Regions from separate parts of the Homo sapiens genome. Here regions 2 and 3 are each linked to region 1. The links are contacts of gene promoters, found by promoter capture Hi-C in human tissues and cell types (Jung and others, 2019). All regions are on one chromosome and are shown on one strand. The core of a region is centred on a gene start or on the middle of the fragment in contact, and the rest is flanking DNA. Distances in the headings are between cores, read along the strand shown.

Region 1 (4,779 bases), core at 342-2,841:
CTGAATGGGGTGTGAGGCTTGTTCTGACCCAAAGCCAGAATACATTCTTTGAGGGCTAGAAGACTCTTGTTAATCTCTGCCCCTTCCAGCTGCCTTTTCCGGCTGGCCTTGGTTGTATCTGCTCCTCTTTCATTCCCAGCTAAATCAACGAGGGAAAACTTGCCATGCATTATCCGTCCTGACTTCAGGATGATCTGGAACACTGCATGGCTCCTGGATGAGTGAGCGTTGACAGGTGTTTGCCTGGAAGTCCGACAGCTATTCCCTATTTCCACCAGGTTCAGCACTTCCTCCACACAACACACCTCTTTCTCCTGCAGCCCGACCACTTGGATTTGCTGATTGCCATCCTCAAGGACTTGCAGCTTCTTCTTCCAGTTCAACAAATCATACACCTTGCCCCCATAAATCTCAAAAAATGTCCCATAGACTTTGAGGTCCAGCTTCTCATATGTGGAGTTTCTGAGCAGGAGAAAGACATCCTGTGCCACCAGAGCATAAATGCCCTTAGAACAATCTTGGGCCGTTCCTGAAAAGTCTCCACCCATGGTGTACGTCTTCCCACTTCCCGTCTGCCCATAGGCAAAGCAGGTGGCCATGCCCTTGCGGAAGATGGACTCCACCAGTGGCTGGGCGGTGAACTGGTACACCAACTCGTTGGAGGCTTTGTCATCGAAGGCATGGTCGAAGCAGAAGGTCTGGTTCTGCAGGTAGCGAGTGAGGTCCACCTTTTGCTTGGACTCATGCACCATAACCACATTGTCCGAGGGGACGGTGATGATATCCAGGTCCTTTAAGGTTGTCTCTCGCTGGTTGAGAGGCCGCTTCCTCACGCAGACGCAGATGCGATGTTCTTGCGGGGGCTCCAGGACTGAGATCTTGCTGCTGTCCAGGTGCCTGCGATACTCTTCGATCATGTGCATGATTTCGTAGTTGGGGTTTCTGGTATTGACATCGAGGGCGCGTCTAGCTCGGATCTCCTGCTGCAGCCGCCTGCGCTTTTCCCGCTGCTCCTGCAGTTTCTGGATTTCCCAGAGGCAGGGAGACTTTTTCTGCTTCATCAGACAAGGTTTGCTGGGGACCCTCACATCCAGGCTGTCCCCTGAGGCTGTTTGGTTTTTCTGGGGGATCATCGCAACCCATTTCGTGGCGGTACGCTGGTCCCTGATGGCCGAAGAGGGCGCCAGAGCCAAGGGGGATAAGGGCGGGGGCGGCATGGGGTGTTCAGCAGAGTCCAGAGCTGGATTCAGCAGGAGTATGGTCTCCAGGTCAATCTTCTTGCCTTTTTTGACTGCTTTCTCCACCCACTCTACCGTGACCCAATAGTTTTCTCTGTTGATCTCCGTGACCACAGCGAGGTGGATCCGCTTGTCACTGCGCTGGATCGCCACGTAGATGCCCTCTTGGATGTCTCCGAAATGTGGCTTCAAGGGTTTCAGGGGCGAGAGACATGGGGATTCAGGGAGGCAGAACTGGCTGGCCATGGTGAGTGATGGAGGTATCAGGGAGCGCTCCAGGGCCCTTGGGGTTGGAGCAGCAGGACCCAAGCCAGCCTGAAGCGCCCGGAGCACTGAGCAGGGTTGCAGTCTGTGCCTGCCTTTGTGAGCCTAGCGCGCCGGGGCCCGGACTGGGGCCACTACGTCACAAAGGGATGAGATGAGGCGGCAGAACCTAGGGCTTAGGAGTGAATGGTACGGGAGCACAAAGGGATGGAGAGATTGTTCTCTGCCAGTGAGGGTGAAGGGGTTGGAGGAGGATGTGGCGTGCTCTCCGGATCATGGCGAGAAAGAACAGGTAACAGAGAAGCAACGGGAACCATGGCGTTGAAATTTAATTTATATGTCCCGTGTACATTTATGCCTAAGCATAAAAGGAGGCCTTGGCTGGCAGTCTCAAAGCTCAGTGCTTTAATTTGAGAATTGCTATGAAGTTTCCTTAAACTTTAACTCTCCAGTGATCAGTGGGAATAGATGAAGGTAGAGCTATTTGCAAATCTCAGGACTCGATATTCAACAGGATCCCAGAAAGGCTCCTCAAACCCGCCATCTTTGTTTTTTCACCTCCTTCAAAACGTGTAACTTGTTTAAGAGTCACAACTTAAAGTTATTACAGTTTAATCGGCTTTCTCATTACAAAATCAAAATGAGTAGAATGTAGCAGGTCGTTGTGGTAATTTGCTAATATGAAACTACCTTTCGTACAGCACCTGGGTTTGCAAACACAACATGTGTATCACATTCCAAGTGGCTCTGACAGCTATAAAGTGAGTTTTGTTGTGCTGTGGTCACCACCATTTTTGAGATTAGTTCAGTAATTACCTTTCCAAACTCCTTCAGTAATTACACTTCTGGCCTCATTATCCATAATTGGGAGAGAAAGAAAAGGCATTGTGTGGAAAGAGATAATTAATCTTATACTCCCCCCACCCCTGCAGTACTTGTGTGTGTCCTTTAGAAGTTGTTAAGCAAGGCTGGAAGGCAGCTAAGACCATCGGATGCAAAAATATATTTTGCCAAGATTGCAATATTTTCATGCATAAGAATTAGCTTATAAAATAAATGACATTGACTTTTAGACAGGCCAAGCTCAGAGTAAGGGTGATGCCTTACGTTCAGCTCACTAGCAACACCCGTGCATGTTGTCTTTTGGACTGTTGAATTTTATCATAATTATAGCTCCAAAGTAACATGAAGTAGCAAGTTACAACCTTCCCTAGGAATAAGGGCCTCTATAGAAATAAATTCTACTATAAACTAACTTTTCTGTTCAGTCAGTCTAGTAAAGCTTAGATTTTGAAAAGAAGGTGGAAGGAGGATACTGGATAAATTAGATAAGTAAGCAGTGCTCATTTCAAGAGGAGGTTGTATGCAGGTGGAGGGAGAGGAGAAAGGGCTTTAGGCAATTGTCTTCTAAAAAATATCATGTTTTATTTCCCCAAATTATCAATACTTAAAGTTGTGCTTTAAATCAGTTGTTCTTTCTTGGTTTCAAGGCCATGATGTAGATATTCTTAATACACTGTATTTGTCATTAGCACTCTGTCATTCAAGTTGGAGTACAGTGGCCTGATCATAGCTCACTGCCACCTCATACTCCTAGGTTAAAGCCATCCTACCATCTCAGCTTCCTGAGTAGCTGGAATTACAGGCATGTGTCAGGATGCTTTGCTATTTTCTTTCTTTGTTTCTTTCTTTTTTTTTTTTTTCTTTTTTTTTTTTTTGCTAGGGATGAGGTCTCGCTGTGTTGCACAGAGACTGGTCTCAAACTCCTGACCTCAAGGGAGTCTCCCTTCTCACCCTCCCAAAGTGATAGAAATATAGGCTTGAGCCACTGAGCCCACATAATAGTTTGTTTTGCTTTGTTTTTTTAACCGTTACCTTTGAAAAAGCTGGGTCTCTCTCAAAATTATGAAAACTCTAGACCCTCCAGGCTAGCCATAGGGTTTTCATCTTAGCTAGTAATGTTTTAGACAGACAATGGATGAGCAGATCCATGATAATAGTGCCAAAATCAGAGAGAAAAGTTTCCTTTTACTCCCTCTTTCTCTCCAACATGTTCATACAGGTTTTCATAGCAATTTCAGGACTTTTTTTCAGTTCTTTTCTCTTTTATATAGTTTCCCTAGTATATTGCATTTGTTCCTACAGTTTAATTTTATATAAAGCTGGCTAGATAGATTGTTGATAACCAGAATTATGAGTCCTAAACTTGTAGTCACCTGCAGGAACTAAAAAGTTAACAAATCCAAAACTGATTCTGTTATTTTCTTACTGAAAATGGCAGGTCTTTGTTATTTTTAATTGCTTTTAGTAACTTCAACATTTACTCATCTTTAAAATCCTGACACAGATCTTTGTGTTCTTCCCCTTTCAGCCCATCCTAACTTAGGTAGTCCTTTCCCAGTCTCTAGAAGTCTTCCATAACCATGATATCATTTAATCTCCCAACCAATTATGAGCTTGTTTTCTTTTTTCTTTTTTTTTTTTTTTTTGCAACCTCATCCAGTCAGGGACTTAGTCTATTTCTCACACTGCTCCTAGAGTTATTTTAACAGGTTCTTCCTTATTAATTCACTGCTTTTAAGCATTTGTTAGCTCCTCATCATCCTAATGATATGGTATAAATTCCATATGAAGACTTAAGGCACATCATCATCTTGCCTGCTTTGTCATCCTCAAGATTTCCCACTATCCATACTTAATCTAAAATTGAGCCATGTGGAAGAAATTGCAGCCCTTCAAACACACCATTTTCTTTCAAATTTCAAATTGCTAGTCCGGTGGTTCTCAATATTAAGATATGTGAAAATCAACTGCAGGGCTTGTTAAAACACAGGCTACTAGGCTCCATGCCAGAGTTGTTGATTCAGTAAGTCTGAAGTGGGGCTGAAAATTCTCATGTTTAACAAGTTCCCAGGCAATGTTGGTGCTGCTGGGTGCAGGGACAACATTTTGAGAATTACTAGTACAGCCCTCTGACAATAATCCTTCCTTGTCTTCATGGTTTTCCTGAGCTCTTCAATACCTACCTCAAACATCACTACCCTGGACAGGTTTCTCTGACCTTCTTGACAATAGCCAGGCAAAATAGCATTAGATAAAGACACCCCTTCTGAAGAAATGGTGTCTATTACTGGTCGAATTTGGCTAGTCAAGGGAACCCAAAGCCTAATTTTTAGTAGTACATTAAAAAAAATTCTCATTGGTGAAAAATAACAGTAACCTGTTTATAGAGAGCTGATTGGGTGCTTTTACAATTCCAATAGTCTGGAACTTCTTT
Region 2 (4,651 bases), core at 1,310-3,809, 56 kb after region 1:
TAGGCAAGTCTGGGAATGACTGCAAAAGCAGTGTTGATTTCAGGGCAACAGATAGATTTTAGCAAGTAGGAGAATTTGCAAACACGGAATCCTCAAATAATGAGGATTGACTATATTTATATTCACAACCAGATGGACATTGAGGGCTACAATTGTCAATGGCTTTAGTTTTCTAGACTATTTAATGAGTTGATAAATTAATCAACTAAAATTTTAGTTTAATTAACATAATTTAAGACACTGGTATCTATTGGTAGTTTGTGTTATAATAGAATTAAGATATAAAATATGTATCTCTCATGTTATAATTTGTATTTTGTTTTTTAATTTTAATACATTTGAATATTTAGATAAAATAACTTTGTAGAAGGTCTATATGAAAAATTGTGGGCTGGGTGCAGTGGCTCATGCCTGTAATGCCAGCACTTTGGGAGGCTGAGGCGGGCGGATCACGAAGTCAGGAGATCGAGACCATCCTGGCTAACATGGTGAAATCCCGTCTCTACTAAAAATACAAAAAAATTAGTCAGGTGTGGTGGCGGGCGCCTGTAGTCCTAGCTACTCAGGAGGCTGAGGCAGGAGAACGGCGTGAACCCGGGAAGCAGAGGTTGCAGTGGGCTGAGATCCAGCCACTGCACTGCAGCCTGTGTGACAGAGCAAGACTCCATCTCAAAAAAAAAGAAAAGAAAATAAAATTTATGAAAATACCTTAGGATTTTCTTCATTTATTTTAACTTACATTTTATTTATTGGTGCATTTACTTATTTTTAAAACCTCTATAACATAGTGGATCCTCATTTCTCCATACTATTCCATTATTAGGGCATTTTTGTGGCCCTTAAGTCATATTTTAATAAAATATATAATAAAATAAGTATGCTTTGAATATAATTCCATTTTATTTTTTTAATTTCTTATTTTACACTGAGAAGGTATATAGTCTGAGATCAAGATTAAAATAAATAAAACACTCAAATGCAAACAAAAGATGGGCCCAGAAAAAAATTTTAAAGGACTGAAGGTAAATTCTTACAATCGTTAAGGTGGACATATTTAATATATTTTACTTAACAATTTGTTTGCATGATCTGTAACATTTGTTGGTGCAAAAGTAATTGCAGTTTTTGCATTGTTGGTGTTTGCTGTTTGATATTGAAATACATTCTTAAATAAATGTAGTTATGCCCATCATTTTAATTGGCATTTCTTGATTTATGGTTTTTTGCTAACGACACTACTTGCTGTTTATGTTTATTTTAGACTATTGAAATGATGTTGGACAAAAAGCAAATTCGAGCAATTTTTTTTTTTTTTTTTGAGATGGAGTCTAGCTCTGTTGCCAAGCTGGAGTGCAGTGACTCAATCTTGGCTCACTGCAATCCCTGATTCCCTGGTTGTAGAAATTCTTCTGCCTCAGCCTCCCGAGTAGCTGGGATTACAGGTGTGTGCCACCACGACCAGCTAATTTTTGTATTTTTAATAGAGACGGGGTTTCACCATGTTGGCCAGGATGGTCTTGATCTCCTGACCTCGTGATCCACCCGCCTCGGCCTCCCAAAGTGCTGGGATTACAGGCGTGAGCCACCATGCCCAGCCGCAATTTTCTTTTTCGAGTTCAAAATGGGTCGTAAAGCAGCAGAGACAACTTTGCAACATCAACAATGCATTTGGCCCAGGAACTGCTAATGAACGTACAGTGCAGTGGTGGTTCAAAAAGTTTTGTAAAGGAGACAAGAGCCTTGAAGATGAGCAGCATAGTGGCCAGCCATCGGAAGTTGACAACAAACAATTGAGAGCAATCATATAAGCTGACCCTCTTACAACTACATGAGAAGTTGCCAAAGAACTCAACATCAACCATTCTATGGTCATTTGGCATTTGAAACAAATTGGAGAGGTGAAAAAGCTTAATAAATGGGTGCCTTTTGAGCTGAGTGAAAATTTTTAAAAATTGCCATTTTGAAGTATTGTATTTTCTTATTCTATGCAACAATGAACCATTTCTTGATTGGATTGTGATATGAAATGAAAAGTGGATTTTTTATGACAACCAGCAATGACCAGCTCAGTGGTTGAGCTGGGAAGAAGCTCCAAAACACTTCCCAAAGCCAAACTTGCACCAAAAAGGTCATGGTCATTCTTTGGTGGTCTGCTGCTGGTCTGATCCACTACAGCTCTCTGAATCCTGGCAAAACCATTACATCTGAGAAATATGCTCAGCAAATCCATGAGATGCACCAAAAACTGCAATGCTTGCAGATGGCATTGGTCTACAGAAATGGCCCAATTCTTCTCCACAACGCCCGACTGCACGTCACACAACTAACGCTTCAAAAGTTGAATGAATTGGGCGATGGAGTTTTGCCTCATCTGCTATGTTCACCTGACCTCTCGCCAACTAACTACCACTTCTTCAAGCATCTCGACAACGTTTTGCAGGGAAAACACTTCCACGACCATCAGGATGTAGAAAATGCTTTCCAAGAGTTGCTTGAATCCCAAAGCACAGATTTTCACACTATGGAAATAAACAAATTCATTACTCATTGGCAAAAGTGTGTTGATTTTAATTGTTCTTATTTTGATTCATAAAGATGTGTTTGAGCTTAGTTCATGGTCTAAAACTGCAATTTCTTTTGCACCAATCTGATAGATGTAAGGTATGTGGGCCTCCATTGGTACTCTTGTTTTGAGCCCCACAGAAGTTAATGGTGGATCTTCAGCTAGGAGAGTGGTGGTGATGGTAAAGAGAATAGGATCACTCTGAATATTCACTGGTGACTGGCACTCCCATGTACACTGACTGCTGTGCCTGACTTGTGTGGGGGCCATACAAGCGGGGACAGATGAAAATCAGAAAAGTCAACTTCTGTGGAGGGAAGCTTCAAAAAAAAAAAAAGAGTAAGATTTGGAGGGGAGGGAGAGAAGAGAGTTGAGAAAAGCTCATAAAACTATGGAAATTAATTATAAATTTAAATGCCTCGTTATTGAGATTAAAAAGGAGATGAGTTCAGAAGCTCTACTCTAATTGTGAGGGTTTATTATTTATGATGCTCCATTTAGATTAGGAGTGCAGTGGCACAGAGCTCGTTTTTATCAAATGCTAATGAGCAATAATTGCTATCATAAGTAACACTACTCTTCATAATGACACAGCAGAATACCTCTTTATCACATCTATTTAGGATATTAGTGGACAGAATATAATGAGAAACAATTTTATGGTGAGACAATAACATATAAACCTTTCAAGTGAGCTATCACAATACCGATAGAAATAAAACAGTATAAATAACAGTAAGGACATTGCAGGCAGATATACTTAAGATCAAAAATCCCAAGAATGTCATTTATTAATCTGATTAATTTATTCAACCATTGCAAGACTCAGTTTCTTTATCTGGTAAAATGGGGGTATAAATTATGATTTTGCAGTGCTGTGAGAATGAAGTGAGGTGATGTAAATAAAGAACTTGTTATAGTGCCAAGAATAGAACGTTCAATAAATTGAGGCTCTATTAATAGTGGTATTATTACTCTGTTAAAATAAAAATTCAGTCATGTCACTCTTTTGCTCAAAAGCTTCTAAGGGTGCCCATATCTCAAAGAGTAAATGCCAAAGTCCCAAGGATGGCCTAGGAGGTCATTTACACTCTGGCTCTCCCCCACCCCTGATCCTTCTATTCTCTGATGGCATTTGGGGTCATCTCGTTGTATTCTTTCCTCACTCACTTCTCTGGCCACACAGGTCTCCTTGCAGTTTCTCAACAAGGTCAGGCACACTCCTAGACCAAGGCATCTGCACTTGCTGCTTTTATCCTGAAATAGTCTTCTCTTGTATATCCATGGTTCATGCTCCTTAACTTTCTTTAGGTATTTACTCACATGTCCTCTTCTCAGTGAGACCTTTCAAGACCACTCTATTTAAAATTACAATCTTCCTCCTAAAAAAGTCTCTATTTCTTTTGCTTGCATTTTTTTTCTCAATATTGCTTATTACGCCATCTACTGTGACTCATCTCTTATAGCCTACAGCTTAAATTTCTCTCAGGTGCCCCAGTGGGAATAAGACTAGTATCCTGAACCTTGGAGTCCTTTCATTCATAAGCTTAATGTGATTCTGTTTCTATTGTCTTTCATTTTCCTGGCAAAATTATGGTATATGAGGACTTAACTTAAAAAAATAATGTTTTGTTAGCCTCTGTCTTGCTGTCTTGCTTCTTAAACTCAACCCTAATTTTTTTTTTTTTTTTTTTTTTTTTTTTTTACATTTTGGTAAGACATTATTTTACCTTAAAGCCTTTAAATTCAGAAGCTGTGAAGGAAACTACTATCTGTTTTCTCAATATTTCTTCTCCAGTTTTTCCCTATAGTAATAGAATTATTCTGTTGGCTCATGACTGCCCAGGTAAAGACATGCCCCACTCTTCCTTGCTGGTAGTCATGACCAAATGACTGAGTTTAAGTTTGGGCCAGGGAAATGTTAGTGAAAGCAGTATGTGCAACTTTTTGATTTATGACCATAAGCGGGAGGTGTTCCTGTGGGTGTGGTCATCTTTGTGCAGACAAGGGTAACACCCCAAAGATTACTGAGCAAGCATTCTGGATCTTCAACACTATAAATTGTCCTAACCACCCTGCGATGCCTTC
Region 3 (4,487 bases), core at 1,588-4,087, 62 kb before region 1:
TTATTCATTTATTTATGTCTGCTTTAATTTGTCCCATCAGTGTTTGTAGTTTTTAGTGCATCAATCTCACATCCTTGGTTAAGTTGTAAAGGTGATAGTTTTCTTAATTTCCTTTTCAGATAGTTCATAGTACCTAGAAATATAACTAATTTTTATATTTGATTTTTATTTTCCAACTTTGCTGAGTTCATTAGTTCTAAGAGGTTTTGTGTGTGTGTGTGTGTGTGTGTGTGTGTGTGTGTGTGTGTGTCTGTGTGTAGTATTTAGGATTTTCTATATAAAAATCACATCATCTACAAAGAAAGGTAATTCATATTTTCTTTTCTGATTTGATTGCATTTTTAAAATTTTCTTGCCTAATTGCTCTGTATAGGATTTCCAATACTAGGTTGAATAGAAATGGTGAGAGTGGACATTTTTTCTTCATTCTAGGTCTTAGAAGAAAAGCTTTTAGTTTTTCACCACTGAGGTAATGTTAGCTGTGGGCTTTTTATATGCAAGAATACTTCATTTTATGCTACTTCATTTTATTCAAAGATATTGTGTTTTTTTTTACAAATTGAAGGTTTGTGTCAATGCTGTATTGAGCAAATTCATTAGTACCATTTTCTAATGTGATGTGCTCACTTCGAGTCTCTGTGTCATATTTTGATAATTATCACAATATTTTTGACTTTTCTAATATTATTATATCTGTTACGGAGGTCTATGATTAATGATTTTTGATATTACTATTGTAATTACTTTGGGATGCCATGAACCAGGCCCATATAAAACAGTGAACTTAATCCATAAATGTTATGAGTGTTATGACTGCTCCTCTGACCAGCAATTTCCATCTCTCTCCCTCTCTTTAGGTCTCACTATTATTCCCTGAGACAAAGCAATGTTCAAATTAGGTCAAATAATCCCACAATGGCCTCTAAGCGCTCAAGTGAAAGGAAGAGTCACATGTCCCTCACTTTGAATCAAAAGCTAGAAATGAGTAAGCTTAGTGAGAAAGCCATATCAAAAGCCAAGATATGATGAAATCTAGGCCTCTTACACCAAATGATTAGCCAATTTGTGAATGTAAGGGAAAAGTTCTTGAAGGAAATTAGAAGTGCTACTCCAGTAAACACACAAATGATAAGAAAGTGAAATAGATTTAATATGATTTGGATCTGTGTTTCCACCAAATCTCATATGGAGGTGTGGTCCCCAGTGTTGTGGGTTAGGACCTGGCAGGAGGTATTTGCATCAGAGGGGTGTATTCCTCATGAGTGGCTTGGTGCTCTCCCCTAGGTGATGAGTGAGTGAGTTCTTATGAGTTTGGGTTATTTAAAAGTATTTTGCACCTCCCCCCTCTTCTGACTCTCTCTTTTTCTCCTGTTCTGGTCATGTGACATGCCTGCTCCCACTTCAACTCCTGTCATGATTGTAAGTTTCTTGAGGTCTCCCCAGAAGCCAAGAAGATGCCAGCATCATGTTTCCTGTAAAGCCAAAAGAACCATGAGCAAATTAAACATCTTTTCTTTATAAATTACCCAGTGTCAGATATTTTTATACCAACATAAGAATGGCCTAACACAGGGTTTATTGCTGATATGGCTAAAGCTTGAGTAGTCAGGATAGAAGACTAAACCAGCCACAACCTTCCCTTAAGCCAAAGACTATTCAAGAGTAAGGCTCTAACTCTCTTCACTTATATGAAGGTGAAGAGAGGTAAGGAATCTGCAGGAAAAAAAAATGAAGATAGCAGAAGTTGGTTCATGGGGTTTAAGGGAAAGGAGCCATCATGATAACATGAAAGTAAAAAGAAAAGCAGTAAGTGCTGATGGAGAAACTACAGCAAGTTATCCAGATGATCTAGCCAAGATTATTGATGAAGGTTGCTATACCAAACAACTATTTTGAATGTAGATGAAACGGCCTCATATTGGAAGAAAATGCTATCTAGGATTTTCATAACTAAAAAGAAGTCATGTCTTGATTTGAAAACTTCAAAGAACAAAGACTACCTTGTTAAAGGCTAATACAGCTGGTGACTTTAAGTTGAAGCCAATGATCATTTAACATTCTAAAAATCCTAGAGCTCTTAAGAATTGTGAAAAATCTACTCTTCCTAGGCTACATAAATGGAAAAACAAAGCCTGTTTACTGTGTGGTTTACTGAATATTTTAAGCCTACAGTTGAGACCTACAGCTCAGAAAAAAGATTCTTTTCAAAATATTGCTGCTCATTGTCAATACAACTGGTCACCCAAGAGCTATGATAGATATGTACAAAGAAATTAATGTTCTTTTCATGCCTGCTATCACAACCTCCATTCTTCAGCTCATAGATCAAGGAGTAATTTTCACCTTCAAGTCTTATTACTTGAGAAATACATTTTATAATTCTATAGCTGCTATAGATAGTGATGTATCTGATGTATCTGAGCAAACTAAATTGAAAAGCTTCTAGAAATGATTCTACATTCTAGATACCATTAAGAATCTTCATGCTTTTTGAAAGTAAGCCAAAATATCAACATCTAAGGGACTCTGGAAGAAGTTAATTCTAATCCTCATAGACAATTTTAATAGGTTCAAGACTTCAGTAAAGGAAATAACTGCAGATATGGTGGAAATTGCAAGAGAAATAAGAATTAGAAGTGGAGCCTGAAAATGTGAATGAATGTGACAATCTCATAATAAAAGTTAAACAGATGAGAAATTGCCTCTTATGAATAAGCAAAGAAAGTTGTTTCTTGAGATGGAATATACTCCTGGTCAAGATATTATGAACAATGCTGAGATGACAAGAAAACATTTAGAATATTATGTAAACTTAATTGATGAAGCAAGGACAAGGCTTAAGAGGACTGACTTCAATTTTGAAAGAACCTCTATTCTGGGTAAAATGCTTTCAAACACATTGCATATTACAGAGAAATCTTTAGTGAAAGGAAGGGCCAATTTATGGGGCAAACTTTATTGTCGTCTCATTTTAAGAAATTTCTGCATCCATCTCTACCTTCAGCTATCACAACCCTGACCAGTCATTAGCCATCAACAAGAAGGCAAAATCCTCTACCAGGAAAAAGATTGCAGCTCACTGAAGGCTCAGATGATCATTAGCATTTGTTGGCAAGAAAGTATTTTTTAATTAAGCTATGCACTTTTTTAGACATAATGCTATTGCACATGTAATAGGCTATAATATTGTGTAAACATAACTTTTACATGAACTGAAAAATAGACAAAACCGGCGTGACTCACTTTATTGTGATGTTTCCTTTATTGCAGTGGGCTGGAACTGCACCTGAAATTTCTTACAGGTATGCCTCTTTGGCTTTGATTGTGCTAAGTTATTTCTATACCTAACTTGTTTAGAGTTTTTATTATGAAAGGGTGTTGAAATTTGTCAAATGACTTTTCTTCATCTACAAAAAAGATCTTGTGATTTTTTATTCTTCATTCTGTTTCTGGAGTGTATGATAATATTTGATTTGTATATGTCGAACTATCCCTGCTTACTGGGGTAAATCCCACTTGGTCATGGCGTATGATCCTTTTAGTATGCTGTTGAACTTTGTTTACTAATATTTTGATGAAAATTTTTGCAATCAGATTCATCAGGGATATTGACCTTTAGTTGTTTTTTCTTGTGGTTTCTGTCTGTTAGTGTCAAGGTGATGCTGGCCTTATAAAAAGATTTCAGAACTGTTCCCTCTTCTATTTTTTCTGAAGAGTTTAAGAAGGATTTGTAATATGTTTTTAAATGCTTGGGACAATTTATCTATGAAGTCATTAATTCACGTGTTTTTCTTTTTTGATTACTGAGTCAATCTAATTTGTTATTAATATGTTCAGGCTTTTGATTTCTACTTGACTCAGTCTTGGCAGAGTGTATGTTTCTAAGAATGTATTCATTTCTTCTAGGTTGCCCTGTTGGTGCATGATTGTTCATAATAGTCCCTTATAATCTCTTTCTTAAAAAATTGTGGCATTGATTGTAACATTGCCTTCTCCATTTCTGATTTTATCTTCTCTCTTCTTTTTTAAGTTAGTGTAGATAAGAGTTTTTAAATTTTAATTATCTTTTCACAAAACAAACCCTAAAATTTATTTTTTAATATTTAACAAAATCTCTATTTTGTTTATTCCTTCTCTAATATTTATTATTTCCTTCCATCCCCTAAGTTAAGGCTGTCCTTTATTTCTTGTTTCTTGAGACACAATACTGGGCAATGGTTACATCTCCATTTCCTTAGAATGGTTTATTTGAGCTTTATTTTTTTCCTTTGCTGGTGTCATGTTTCCCTGGTTCTTCGTGATTATTGTAAACTTGCATTCATGCCTCTGCATTTGAAGAAATACTCAACTCTTCTAGTCTTTACAGACTGACTTTGACATGGAAAGCCCTTCACCTGTCATCCTGGCCAGATATTTTCGATGGACTAGCTAGTAGGGATCTTTAACATGTGGGCTTTGGGCCTGGGCCCACGGGTAGGATGGCCTGA

What was found. The method cuts DNA at HindIII sites, captures the fragments that hold promoters and counts their contacts. A contact is called where the count stands out against the background at its distance.
Region 2: a contact is called between a fragment that was not itself captured here and the fragment with the promoter of KIF2B in region 1, in 2 of the 25 tissues and cell types used here (dorsolateral prefrontal cortex and heart right ventricle).
Region 3: a fragment that was not itself captured here is called in contact with the fragment with the promoter of KIF2B in region 1 in 1 of the 25 tissues and cell types used here (spleen).

The regions. Positions count from the first base shown.
Region 1 is chr17:53,819,739-53,824,517 of GRCh38, reverse strand. KIF2B (kinesin family member 2B) reads right to left here and starts at 1,591. Exons shown (of 1, transcript NM_032559.5): 1 at 1-1,591. The coding sequence starts at 1,484. It overlaps LOC124904030 (a long non-coding RNA gene), which reads left to right and starts at 1,592. Exons shown (of 2, transcript XR_007065851.1): 1 at 1,592-1,794. The HindIII fragment of the contact is 8,156 bases long and covers 1-4,708 here.
Region 2 is chr17:53,765,191-53,769,841 of GRCh38, reverse strand. No RefSeq gene overlaps it. Among named protein-coding and RNA genes, the nearest start is that of KIF2B, 55 kb to the left of the region's middle. The HindIII fragment of the contact is 5,389 bases long and covers 1-4,651 here.
Region 3 is chr17:53,883,006-53,887,492 of GRCh38, reverse strand. No RefSeq gene overlaps it. Among named protein-coding and RNA genes, the nearest start is that of KIF2B, 62 kb to the right of the region's middle. The HindIII fragment of the contact is 3,087 bases long and covers 1,294-4,380 here.